Linked DNA regions of Homo sapiens: region 2 is linked to region 1. Evidence: promoter capture Hi-C in 16 types of primary human blood cells and fetal thymus (Javierre and others, 2016). All regions are on one chromosome and are shown on one strand. The core of a region is centred on a gene start or on the middle of the fragment in contact, and the rest is flanking DNA. Distances in the headings are between cores, read along the strand shown. Region 1 holds the start of C10orf88 (chromosome 10 open reading frame 88). Region 2 overlaps ADAM12 (ADAM metallopeptidase domain 12).

What was found. Contacts are between HindIII fragments. The CHiCAGO score rates a contact against its expected background, and 5 or more counts as called.
Region 2: a contact is called between a fragment that was not itself captured here and the fragment with the promoter of C10orf88 in region 1, in 1 of 17 cell types (monocytes). The highest score is 5.3, in monocytes.

Annotation. Positions count from the first base shown.
Region 1 is chr10:122,950,460-122,957,503 of GRCh38, reverse strand. It overlaps C10orf88 (chromosome 10 open reading frame 88), which reads left to right and starts at 3,277. Exons shown (of 6, transcript NM_024942.4): 1 at 3,277-3,489; 2 at 4,472-4,675; 3 at 5,478-5,550. The coding sequence starts at 3,326. LOC124902519 (a long non-coding RNA gene) reads right to left here and starts at 3,062. Exons shown (of 2, transcript XR_007062325.1): 1 at 2,936-3,062. RefSeq lists a silencer at 3,482-3,561. The HindIII fragment of the contact is 5,860 bases long and covers 1,297-7,044 here.
Region 2 is chr10:126,037,006-126,043,912 of GRCh38, reverse strand. ADAM12 (ADAM metallopeptidase domain 12) reads left to right here. Exons shown (of 23, transcript NM_001288973.2): 18 at 765-873; 19 at 4,484-4,619; 20 at 5,564-5,672. Among named protein-coding and RNA genes, the nearest start is that of FANK1-AS1, 67 kb to the right of the region's middle. RefSeq lists an enhancer at 342-999. The HindIII fragment of the contact is 8,824 bases long and covers 1-6,507 here.

The DNA.
Region 1 (7,044 bases), core at 2,028-4,527:
AGAGCTTCTGCAGCATTTCTACATTTCCTCAGAAAGGTTGTATTGAAAATGATATACAGTCTAACAATGTTTCTAACTAGAACAGAGGTTCTAGTTAAAATGAGGTAGAAAGCAGCTATAAATGAAGTTGGGAGAAAAAGATAGGAAGGTTGTTCTTTTCCACTCTGTTAAAATTGCAGGCCCTGTATTGAGGCAGGGTGAGAAGGAATTCCTGGCAACTGTGGGACCTGCAAGGACCAGAAGAGAGGGAAAGGAGGAGAGAAGGTACAACTCAAGTGGTCCTGAGAAGGAAGTTAAGTTCCTATAACCACCTTGCTGGGAAGTATACTCCTGTGTAAAAGGCAGGGCATATATAGTAAGAACTCAATCTACTTAAGATAGTCAAAACATCTAAACTGTGGCATTACTAAATGAATGTGCTCAAGAAAATTAGTATCCTAAGTTACTTTTTTCTAAAATGTACCTTTCAAATGTGCGTTGGCTCATATTCTGAAAACAGATTTGAAATATGCTCCTAAATATTGAGTTCTTGCATATCATTACTGGTGGGAAATTTCCAACTGTATTAGCCATCTTCACGCTGCTGATAAAGACATACCTGATACTGGGTAATTTATAAAGACAAGGTTTAATGGACTCACAGTTCCATGTGGTTGGTTGGGGAGGCCTCACAATCATGGCAGAAGAGCAAGGCAGAGGAAAGAGAGAATGAGAGCGAAGCGAAAGGCGCTTCCCCTTATAAAACCATCAGATCTCCCAAGACTTATTCACTACCACGAGAACAGTATGGGGGAAACTGCCCCCACCATTCAGTTATCTCCCACGGGGTCCCTCCCACAACAAGTGGGAATTATGGGAGCCACAATTCAAGATGACATTTGGGTGGGGACACAGCCAACCATATCACCAACTATATTTTCTGATTTACTTCAAAGAGAAAAGTAAAGCAAAAAACTCACTTGTAATTCATGACAAGAATAATGTATCATATTAAGATTGAAGTCAGCTTTGAACCATAACCATCCTGGCTTTGGAAAAAAGCTTAAGATTGAATGTACTAATTTTCCTTTTTCTGCTGCTCTTAGTTTATGTGATAAAAGCTGTCACCAACCTATCAATTCCATACAACAAACCTGTACTCAACATAATGTCTATCTCAGCAAGCATGCAGATAGTAGGGAACACAGATATATAAACAGGCAAAGTCTGACATCAAAGGAGAATTATACTACCTAAAAAAGTGGTAATTGTAGCACAGAGGAATTTGTTTAATTCTGTAGCAGGATGAAGTAAGCTTGGTTTCGCATGATAAATAGGATTTTTCCTACTATTGAAAAAAATGGCATTCTAGGTAGAGGAAACTGGAAGGTAGGCAGGGTTCAAAGTACAAAGGACTCTGCATGCTATGCTAAGGAGTGAAGGTGTTGATTCAGTCAGGAACATTGATCACCAGAAGGAGAAGAGGGCAGTGCAAAGACTGAAATGGAAGGAATCAAAATGAAAGCTACTGACAAACTCCTGGAATTGTTCAGATAAAGCTAGTGCTTGGAAACAGAAGAAGCAGAGATAGGAAAATTTTTCTTTAAGAAAATGAAGACTTGGTGGTTTATTGGCTGTATGGAAATAAAGGAAAGGATAGACCATAGGAATCTTTTGTTTTCTGATTCCTGGACATTCAGCTTTATTTAAGGAAGTCAAAATCCAGTTTATAATATTGCTATTGCTCATGAAATTGCAGATTAGTTTCTGAAGAGCCTATTTTCCTTCGGATTGTCCACATGTATTAATGTGGATCAAAGTTAACTTACAACCACAGGAAGCAGGACATACAGGACAAAAATAATGACAAGGACAACTTAGAATGAGTCTGAAATATTAAAAAAATCTTTGCAAACGAGGACTTTACAATTCTGCTATGATAGACCTTTGGTGACATTTCTCTCTTTCAATCTTGGTGAATTCACCTACCATACGTACATTCTGGTGATTACTTATAGAAAAATACATTTGGTCATCATTTTTCTTGCTTTGACACAGGTAAACAGAATGCAAAGTTTATTCTCATTTTTAGCTAGAGGGCACAAGTCCTAGTACATAAACTCAAACGAAAACATAAGCAAAAAGATTAAAGTAATGCGCACTGAGTCATGAACCCAGAATAGACAGCTCTGAAAGAAAATTAGAGTATGGGTGAGCAAAAACGTTATTTCCTAGAGAGGATACCACCTTAAACACAACTTTGGAACTCTAGATTATAGACAAGTGGAATTTCAGAGTTTGCTTTTTTCAAAAGACAGAAAAATAATCTGCACAAGCCTCTACAGGAGGAGGATGAGGGGGCACACTATATACAGTCCCATCCCGTGGGGCATCTAGAAAGTTCCATCTGCTCCCACTGTTCTGCATCCGTAGCCTTAAGTTCCTTCAAGACTGAGTTCATATTCTACTTCAACAGAGTTCTGAGACCCCCCCTTTCCACTCGCTGTTTCCAGTGCCATGAGGAGCGATCTCATGGGGCAGCCCCTGCCTTCGGTGTCTGGGTCTTTCTTGCATTTCAAATTTCTGTCACCTAGAGCGTCCAGCCCTGGATGCCCGGGTTCCTGCGGCCTGAGGGTTGCACATGGGGTCAGGGGGCGTCAGCTGAGACAGCACCCGGCGAAGGCCAGCGTGGCTCAATGCCCATCACAGATGCCCTTCAACCCCAAAACCCCATCATCCGCTTCAGCCCCCCTCTAAAGCGAGAATATGTGTGAGGGAGGCTAGGAGAATTCGAAGTAAAAATAACCCGAATCGGCAGCGCGTCCGCCGCGCTAGCTGCCACAAATGCTGCAGATCCGACGGAATGGAAGCAGAAAAGGCCCTGGCGTCCCCTTGGGAAAGAACGAGGTCAGGAGTCGGTCTTGCACGCAGCGTAGAGCGACGAGACTACACCTACCTGATCACAGACGTTCCACACCAGCTCAGCAACGGTCGTCCACGCCGCTTGCTGTTTCCCCACAGCCAACGTCGAAAACACCCTCGTGCCGGCGCGCAGTGCACCGCGCCTGCGCATAGTCTCCAGCGAAAGAGCAAGGGTCTGCCAGTGCGCATGCTCCGCTCTCGACCTCCTCCCCGCACACTTTGAACGCCGCGCCTGAGGCCAGCTGGCACATGCGCATGCGTGTCTCTGGTGCCTGCTCTCCCCACCAAAGCAAGAAGCGGCGGGTACTTGAAGCGGAGTGAGCCGGAAGTCGCTTTGCCTGCCCATTTCCACGCTGTACCGGCGGAAATTCAAGCACTGGAAGAGAGGTTCCGGGGCTGGGCTGGCCTGACTGAAGGCGGCGGAATGGAGACGCGGACCGAGGACGGGGGCCTCACCCGCCGCCCCACGCTGGCCTCTTCTTGGGATGTTGCAGGCGGGGCCCTGACCCACAGCCTCCTCCTCACCCGGGCCGGTCTCGGCCCCGGTGACTTCGACTGGGAGGAGCTGCTGGCACCGCCTGCTCCAGGGTGCGCCGGGCCGACGGGGACGGGGTCGCTATGCTCGGCAACTGCCGCGCTTCTAGGGGAGCTGTGAGGGGAGGCGAGAGGGTCTGAGCCCGGGATCCGGGAGAGCAGTTGGTACCAGGTCTCTAGTTGGGGAGGGGAGCTGCGAGGTCGTCCGGGGTGGGCGGAGGGGGGTGGGTCCGGCCGGGAAGGGGCCGAGGCTCCTGGGCGTGAGAGGGGGAAGGTGACCCGGACTCGGAATTTCATATAACGTCCCCATCAGGCGTGATAGCCCCTCAGGGCTGCTGTCAAAGTCAGTCCGCCCCTCTACCCTCAAACAAGACACCTCCTGTCCACCAAAACAGGCTGTGTAAAAAGTCCAGCTATAGATGATCGCTGTCGACTTAATTTCGAAAAAGATACACTTTTGTCTTTCATTGTGCCCTGCACCCAGTAGGTGCCCAGTGATTTATGTAATTATCCGAGAGTCAATTGCAGGGGATTGAGTAGAATGTTGATTGAGGAAAAAATAGAGTTTGGGAAAGCCCTGATGTGTGACACCTTCATTTCCGTATGAATTCTGTGTTGAGCGCTTCTTGGATGCTTGGGAAGGTGCTTGGACCTCAAGGGCAAGTGGAAGTGAGTTAGAAGAAAGAAGCCCCGGCCGGGCACGGTGGCTCACACCTGTAATCCCAGCACTTTGGGAGGCCGAGGCGGGCGGATCACGACGTCAGGAGATCAAGACCATCCTGGCTAACACGGCGAAACCCCGTCTCTACGAAAAATACAAAAAATTAGCCGGGCGCGGTGGCGGGTGCCTGTAGTCCCAGCTGCTTGGGAGGCTGAGGCAGGAGAATGGCGTGAACCCGGAAGGCGGAGCGTGCAGTGAGCCGAGATGGAGCCACTGCATTCCAGCCTGGGCGACAGAGCCAGACTCCGTCTCAAAAAAGAAGAGTCATGTTCAGAGAACTATACTGTGTGATGTTTTCACCAATTTTCTTCTCAGTCAGGATCTGGTGATTTTGAAGAGAAACCACAACAACAAAGATGAAAACCCCTGCTTCCTTTACCTGAGGTGTGGCCCTGATGGAGGTGAAGAAATCGCTTCTATTGGCATTTTAAGTTCAGCAAGAAATATGGAAGTGTACTTAGGAGAGGAGTACTGTGGAACCAGTAGGGGCAAGAATGTTTGTACTGTCCTGGATGACAGGTGTGTGACTTGTACACGGGAAAGTGTTCTTCTGAAGTAGTGTTTTGATTTTTCTCACTTTTTGCAATAATTATTGATTCTCTGATATTGATACCATATGTTATGGGAGAGAAGATAAAAATGTGCCAGTAGGCATAGAAGTTTACAACTTTAGAGATCTTAAAAGACAGTGTAGATCAGCCTAGTTATTTTTATAAATGTTGAAATTTAGAACTAACAATCAAGGTGAATTGGTAGGAGGTCATAGCTAGTTAGTGGAAGAGTTTTATTAGAATGAAATTTTGAGAAGTGTGTCTCTTTCCTTAAACTCACAGCAGTCTGTCTTCCGAAAGTTAATTTGGTAGTCAGTCTGGAACTTTGAATACATTTTCTTCTTGGAAGCCTATTAGAAATGGTGGAGGGATCTAAGACTGTGCTACATAAACCTATTTATTAACCTGTAACGCAACTTGTGATTTTTTTTCTTACGAAGATTTTTCTCCAATCTGTCTTTAACACAAAATATGAACTGTTTTATATCCTGCATGTTGGAAACAATTGCTGTGTTTATTGAGCTTTAAAATACAGTCTGGCTACATGGTTGTACATATGTTATATAATGTAATTTTCTCATTGAGCCTAGTAAGTGGTAGATGTAATCATAGGCAGTGTGCTTCAGTTATGGAGCCCAACTCTTCATGCCTCACCAGGAAAACTGAATCTTAGGATTTCAATATTGTTCTGGAAACATTTATTTTTAAGTGTAACTATTAAAAGTGACAATATATGTAAGTAAAAAAAATTAATTCTTTTTTATTTTTAGTGAACATGAAAAGATCATTTTGTATAAAAAAAATCTAAAATTGGAGTCCTCCACACATGCTTGTAAAATAAAGGTAAGTTGTCAGTTGTAAACTAATTTGACAACTAAGTTGTTTTTGTACTCTGTGTATGCTTGTTTTCTTTTGGATTAGTAATACAATTAGTCCAACTTGCTTGCTTGCTTTTTTTTTTCTTTTCAAGACAGTATCTTGCTCTGTTGCCCAGGCTGGAGTGCAGTGGGACAATCATGGCTCACTGCAACGTCATCTCCCAGCTCAAGCTAACTTCCTACCTCAGCCTCCCAAGTAGCTGGGACTACAGGCATACACCACCATGCCTGGCAAATTTTTTAAATTTTTAGTAGAGATGAGGCTCAGAAATACTTAGTAAACATGTACAAAGAAATTACTTTTCTAAAAAATTATCAGCCCTTTTTAACATTGAATTAAGAAATTTTTTTTTTTTTAAATTTTTCACCCGGTGACCAGTGAGTAGACTTTTTCTCTTAAAATTTAACCATGAGCCACGTGCAGTGGTACATGTTTATAATCCCAGTTACTCAGGAGGCTGAGGTGGGAGGATTGCTCAAGCCCAGGAGTTCAAGACCAACCTGGGCAACAGAGTGAAACCCCATCTCACTAAAAAAATAATAAAAATAAAATTTGACTATTTATTAACCTTGGATAATGTATTGTTAATATGGTAGTGCTGTGTATTTTGAAGTGTTGGGAAATTGAGCAAAAAACATTTTTAAAAACTATATAAACTGTGATGGCAAAAACCCATTTATAAAAGAACAAAATTAGAGAAGTTTCAAGCAAGAGAACCAATAAGTTAAAGGGATTGGACTGTTGTCTTCAGCATGAAAAATATTGTTAAGGTAACTGTTAGTTATGTCTTCAGAGTCTAGGGATAAGGTAATGGATTGGAAGTCTTAAGCCCTGAATGCTAATTCAGTTCTGTCCTGACTAGTGGATTAGTCTTGGGCAGATTTTGGACCTATCTCATGGGTAAAATTAGAGAGCTGAAGAAAATTCTTGGATTCTTTTTATCTCTAAACTTCTGTACTTATTATCATTACTTATAGAAGATTGAAACCTATTTTTACAATAAGAAAAAATAAGTGATTTTTACAGGCAGATAGCAAACTCACAGGACTGATTATCCCAAGATGTTGTTTTGGATAGTATATATTAAATAGCTTCTAAAACCATTTGAATAAAGTAATTTCTTCATTCAACAAAGATTTGAGTGCCTCTTAATGTCAGGTACTATACCAGTCATTTAGGAATTAGCAATAAGAAAATAAACTGAAATGCCTGAACTTATGTTGCTTGTATTCTAGTGGGCAAGACAGACAATAAGGAGACTCAATGAGTAAAATAAATACTATATTTAATGGTGAAAAAGGCTATGGGGTTAAAAAGAGAAAGGGGGATAATAGAGAGGTTGAGAGGTAGGAGGTTAATAAGAGTGTTTCCTTAAAATGTTGAAGACAGTCACATCTTTGGTTCAACACTTAAGAGTTCTTGGATCATGAGTCTGTATTGACCTATGTCCTTGTTTGA
Region 2 (6,907 bases), core at 846-3,345, 3.1 Mb before region 1:
TCCTCGGGCTTTCTTGGTCTCCCTTTCCCGCCGTGCCAGAACCATTCTCTTATTTCACAATGAAAAGAATCCACTGTTGGATTCGCACCCTGGTGCGTGACTGGGAGCCAGGGAACAGCCACTGGGAACCTCTGCAAGAAGGAGGCAGGCGTTGCAGGAAGGACACACGGGGACAGGCTTCAGGAAGTATTAGTGGAAATCCCATGCACCCTGCTAGGATTGCAGGAAACAGGATTCCTTTGCTCAGGAAACGGGGGGCCTGCCTCGGACCCCAGCCTGGCGTGGGACCCGGCAGTCACCAGCCTCTCTGAGCCTTCTGTCTGAAGGAGACAGGGATGCGCCAAGCATCTGTCAGGTCCCGCGGTGCCCCAGGGCTCTGGGTCTGTAGCCCCAAAGCACGGTCCCTCCTCACTGCTGAGGGGGCTTCTCCTCATGGTCAGACAGTTTTCCAGATTGAAAAAGGAAGATGGGGAGATGGAGAAGGAAGTGAGGTGGGTGGGGGAGGCAAGCTGATGAACCCAAATAATCTTCATCACTCTCTTTACAGCCACTAATAGGCAGATGATGCATCTTCACAGCCTCAGGTTTGGTCGCCCCTGTGTGGTGTGTAGTGCCGGCTTTGGGCTTATTCGCACCATGGCGTGTGCTGAGTCTGGCTGTGTCAGTGTTGGGGGGGGGCTCTGACCATGGCCCCCCTTGCTTCTGCTGTGGTGATGCACAGAGCATATGCCCTAACCCCACGTCCCTCCCCTCTGCCCTGAAAGGTGTGCAACAACAGGAAGAACTGCCACTGCGAGGCCCACTGGGCACCTCCCTTCTGTGACAAGTTTGGCTTTGGAGGAAGCACAGACAGCGGCCCCATCCGGCAAGCAGGTCAGTGAAGCCCCTGCATCCCGGTGGGAGGAGGCTGAGCACCTGGGGGCGGGTGGGCTCGCCAGCTGTCAGCATGGGTGCAGGTAGAGCCAACAAGAAACCCAGTGGGGACCCCACATGGGTCTACACAGCCTAGGGTCTCCCGCAGTTTCCAGATGCCCCTCTCATCCCTGCCCGATCTTCTCTGAGGCTCCTTGCTCTCTGCTTTGACTGAGTGGCTGAGTTTGCCAGTTCCTTAGCCTGCGACACTTTTCTTAACTAAGGTCATTTCTATAGTGAACTGCTGAATGGGTATGAATGTCATCACTGTATCAAAGTACTTTGTAAAGGCCGACATCTGTGTGGTAGGGTGACAAGGTGTGAAGTTTAATGCCTTTTAAAAATCTTACTGGAAAGACACCCACCTCTTAGTAAAGGTGACAGTCACGGCAGCAGTGGGAGTCATTGCAACAGCTTTTGCATATGGAATGATGTGTGCAGGTGCTGTGTGGTGCATTTTATGCCCATGATGTCATCCCCTCCTTATACAACTCTGAAGAAGGTGGTATGATTCTTTTCTCACATACCTAGGACCTGAGGCTCAGGGAAGTTAAGTAATTTGCCTAATGTGATCTCGCTAAGATTTACACACACACAGGTCTGCCTGTCCCCCAAGAAGCTCTTAGTAGCAGCTGTGCTTGAACTCGTGGCCATTTCTCCTCGGATGACCTTTAGAAATGGTTTACTGGTGCGGTGCTGTTTTCTCTGAGTTCTTATTGGGCAATTCAGGGGCAAGTCTAAATGATGCCTCTTTTCGAGGGAAAGAAGCAAGGCAGGAAGCTGCAGAGTCCAACAGGGAGCGCGGCCAGGGCCAGGAGCCCGTGGGATCGCAGGAGCATGCGTCTACTGCCTCACTGACACTCATCTGAGCCCTCCCATGACATGGAGACCGTGACCAGTGCTGCTGCAGAGGAGGTCACGCGTCCCCAAGGCCTCCTGTGACTGGCAGCATTGACTCTGTGGCTTTGCCATCGTTTCCATGACAACAGACACAACACAGTTCTCGGGGCTCAGGAGGGGAAGTCCAGCCTACCAGGCACGTCTGCAGAAACAGTGCAAGGAAGGGCAGCGACTTCCTGGTTGAGCTTCTGCTAAAACATGGACATGCTTCAGTGCTGCTCCTGAGAGAGTAGCAGGTTACCACTCTGGCAGGCCCCAGCCCTGCAGCAAGGAGGAAGAGGACTCAAAAGTCTGGCCTTTCACTGAGCCTCCACAGCAGTGGGGGAGAAGCAAGGGTTGGGCCCAGTGTCCCCTTTCCCCAGTGACACCTCAGCCTTGGCAGCCCTGATGACTGGTCTCTGGCTGCAACTTAATGCTCTGATATGGCTTTTAGCATTTATTATATGAAAATAGCAGGGTTTTAGTTTTTAATTTATCAGAGACCCTGCCACCCATTCCATCTCCATCCAAGCAAACTGAATGGCAATGAAACAAACTGGAGAAGAAGGTAGGAGAAAGGGCGGTGAACTCTGGCTCTTTGCTGTGGACATGCGTGACCAGCAGTACTCAGGTTTGAGGGTTTGCAGAAAGCCAGGGAACCCACAGAGTCACCAACCCTTCATTTAACAAGTAAGAATGTTAAAAAGTGAAAACAATGTAAGAGCCTAACTCCATCCCCCGTGGCCATTACTGCATAAAATAGAGTGCATTTGAAATACCGCTGCCTCCACCCTGTTCATACATATATAAAATCAAGGCAGGCCATGAGCAAGCATGGCTCACTGCTCCCTGGCCTGGCCATGGCTCAGGGGCTCATTAAACAAGTACTTGTGTGTCTGCCACACACCAGCCACTCTCCTGGGTCCTGGAGAGACATTAAGCAAGAATGACATGGCATAAGTGAGGGGTACGACTGCAGGGAGAGAGGGCATCATGGGAGGGGAGCAACCCCCACAGAGCGGCAGGGGGTTGTCAGGAAGGCTCCTGGGGACCCTGCATCTGTTGAGGTCTGAAGGGGGCGAGGGAAACATGCATTCTGAAGCCGAGATAGCTGGCTGTGCGAAGATCTAGAGGAGTGTGGACTGGCCTGGGCTCAGATTCTAGAGTGCGGACTGGGCCAACAGGAGGGGACACAGGACACGGTGCTCGTGCTGGTCCTGGGGAAGAGGGAAATGGAGTCAGTCACTGCCCGGGCCTCTGGCTTGAGCAACCCTGGGGAGTTCAGCAGGTTCAGTGTGGGGGCCCTGTAAATGTTCAGTTTCATAGATTGATGTATTGAAGATTTATGGATTCACTTTATGGAACTAGAAATTATAGTTCAAGATTTTTGCTGTTCACTTTTTAAATTAACTTTAATTAACTTTGTTATGAGACACCAGAACTCTAGCTAGAGCCCCCTGTGATCACTACTAAGGGTCTGAAAAGAGTGACATTTTGCCCAGGAAACCAGAAGCAATGCTTTTCCAGTAACACCAACAAGTAAGTCAAGACTGTCATCTGTTGGCTGTCTTGCTTAGGCTAAGACACATCCCTGATAGGCCTTGTTAGTGGGGGATGGGGTCCAGAAACCAAGAAGGTGTGAAAGACATTCTTTCCCTGGAGTAGGAGCTGCTGCTGCAGTGATCCACAGCCAGCTGAGGGTCCAGGTGGGAGGCAGGGCCGAGGAGAGCCCAGGTAACTGCATCACGGCGATCACCAGCAGCCGGAAAGGACTGTTGCACACTTACCTGATGTGAAGTACACCCTGATCCTTGCTGATGGGAAGACAAATGAATCAAGATCCCTGTCCTCTAAAAATTCACTGTCCAGTTGAAATCACAGGTAGACCTCCTCTAAGTCTGAGCATTTAGAGTCCTTCCCAGACAGCCGCTGACCATAGCTACTGTAAGAAACCAACCTGATGGTTTGATTTTTTTCCTTCCTTTCCCTACCCTTGAGGAGGCTCTTAACTGTATTAAACAAAATGGCAGCAGGTCATAGAAAAGAAGATGTTTTCATAGAGAAAATAGCTTCCTCCCAGGAAAAGGGTTTCCCCCACAAAGGCTGTGTTTTTAAGTCCCCAACATAACAAAGCAAAACCCATGGGTGTTTCATTTAAATGAGTTTTCTTTCTCTTTTTTCACTATCTACTTTGAGATGTCCAGCAAGAAAGCAATTCATTTTTTAAAAACACGAAAAGAGATAAAGCAGAACCCAACTACAGAATGAGTAAAGAAAAGCACTTTGGAATGGCAAATCTGTGCTGGGGACTGGAAACATTTGAGCCTGGGGATGGCTGTGATTCCAGTGAGGCTTCAGTGATGGCTCCCTGCTACCTTCTGTGGCTACCATGGTCCACTGTGCCGTTGTCACGCCTCAGGGAACCTGCGTGGTCCAGACCATCACCCCACCTACCCGACTATATATTCCTGTTTAGCAAGTTCTAGAGTTGTCAGAAATGAATGATGGTAACATAGATTGAACCTCAAACATGGCATCTGAAGTAAGACAGTTTATTAGTACATCACTCACGGGTGTACTCTCTTCATTTCTGTTGCTTCAGAGTTCACTTTGCCATAAACGTCACAACTTGATACCTCCCATATTTCATTGTAACTGCCTCCTTCTGTGAGCCCCATGTGTTTTGTTTCAGATAACCAAGGTTTAACCATAGGAATTCTGGTGACCATCCTGTGTCTTCTTGCTGCCGGATTTGTGGTTTATCTCAAAAGGAAGACCTTGATACGACTGCTGTTTACAAATAAGAAGACCACCATTGAAAAACTAAGGTACCCTGGGTTTAGCTTGTCATCTGTTCTAGAAATGGTGGCTCAGAGGCTGGGTGCGGTGGCTCAAGCCTGTAATCCCAGCACTTTGGGAGGCTGAGGCGGGCGGATCACGAGGTCAGGAGATCGAGACCACGGTGAAACCCCGTCTCTACTAAAAATACAAAATATCAGCCGGGCGCGGTGGTGGGTGCCTGTAGTCCCATCTACTCGGGAGGCTGAGGCATGAGAATGGCGTGAACCCGGGAGGCGGAGCTTGCAGTGAGTTGCGATCACTCCACTGCACTCCAGCCTGGGCGAGAGAGCAAGACTCCATCTCAAAAAAAAAAAAAAAAAAAAAAAAAGAAATGGTGTCTCAGAAAATGTACAGCAAACTGCTTCTCACTTCATTTTTTTAGCAAAGGTCAGATTTTCTGGATCATAAACCTGGGACTTGGTTCTTTTTTGGGGGGTTTCTTGTTTTAAATTTCTGCCAGATCAGCTGCCTCCTTTACTTCCCTTCAAACAACAATGTGCTGCTTATTACATAAGCTAGCAGGGTGTCAGGAAATTCCACTGATGTGTTTTCTCCCACCCTTATATTAGTAATTTTTATACAACATGGAGACATTGAAATATTTTCATCAGATGGGGTAGCTTTTGATCCAAATATATTCAAAGACATTATCGCTGAAATGCCAGCTTCATACAAATCATCTTCCAGGTGTCACTACACTGCATTTCTATGGAGCGTGAGAACTAATTTGACAAAATAGAGGTTTTGAGGGAAAAACCAGTATTTATTTTTTAATCTCCTAAGAGTGTTATTAGGTAATTTTTCCTTTGCATGTTTAGCACACTGAGTTAAGTAAACTGTCTTTTGAGTGCCACTATGAGCAAAGTGTAAAAAGTCAAGTCAGTGAGAAGGGGAAACACGCTTGGTCAGCAGGTATGGGATTCTGTTGCAGGTGTGTGCGCCCTTCCCGGCCACCCCGTGGCTTCCAACCCTGTCAGGCTCACCTCGGCCACCTTGGAAAAGGCCTGATGAGGAAGCCGCCAGATTCCTACCCACCGAAGGTGAGTCTTGAGTAGATGTGAGTGCTCAGGGCACACATGCAGACATGAGGTTTTCAATACGAGACTGAATAAGAATGGGATCCTAGAGGCGCTGCCTGTGAAATGCTGAGTCAGCCTCACTAGGTCAGCAGGCTCTGAGGGAGGGTCTCTGTGATCTGGGGCCAGAGGGAGGCCCCACGGTGCCCCCATGGAAGCCCACCTAGATCCTGTTGGCGCACTCAGTGCCCCCTGCATGATATGGTGCAGCATAGTGTGAGCTGTGATCCCTTCAGTCACCCAGACCAGCCACATTTCTGGGGCCCCACTGGGTCTGCAGCCCGAGCTGGCTCCTGACACCAGCCCCCAATGCCAGCCCCACCATGGTTTCCAAATGCCACCACCTGGCTTTAGGTGAGCTGCTTTAGCCCACTGTTACTCTTAAAATATTTTTCAAAAGTTACATGGAGCTCTCAGAATTGACCATTTTGCTCCAGCCCTGAGCTGAGGAAGCCCTGTCCACCCTGTGGTTTCAGAGAACTGGATCCTTAACCCAGAGTACCTCACGGCTCCCTGCTGTCTCTTAACCCTCTTGCTACCCTGGTGAATTACAGCTAGAGTTCATTCTAATAGTTCTTCCCCACCGAGTTTTTCTGATGTACCCACAAGAATTCTTGAATATTGAACTTAGTCAACAAGAGTCCAAATTATAACAGTGAACAAGATTGGTGTCAAAAAAAATAAGTGATTGAAAAATCATTGCTGCATATGCAGTAGGCAATAAACTGTTTTAACTCCCTTGATCCAAAAAACGCAAAGGGTGGGGCTCCAAGGAGGAGGCTGCCATTCCCAATAAGCTTTACCCCTGCTCGTCCCCAAAGGTGGAACCATAAGCGAGAACGGCTTTGTGTGGTAGCCAAAAGCACATCTTCATTTTCGTAAAAAAGAAAAATGCAGCTCTATTAAAAAAAAAAAAAAAGCACAGCCTTATTTTTGAGAGCCCCAAACTAGAAACAATCCAAATATCCATCAACCAGTAAAAGGATAAACAATGGTATATTTGCACAATGGAATGAACCATTGATGTATACAACATTGAGGATGAATCTCTAGATAATTATTCTGAGTAAAAGAAGAAAAGCCAGAGTATATACTCTGTGATCCCACTTATATACAATTCTGACAAATGCAAACTGATAGTGACAGAAAGCAGACTGATGATTGGAGGGAGAGGGAAGGGAGAAGCATGACAAGAAAAC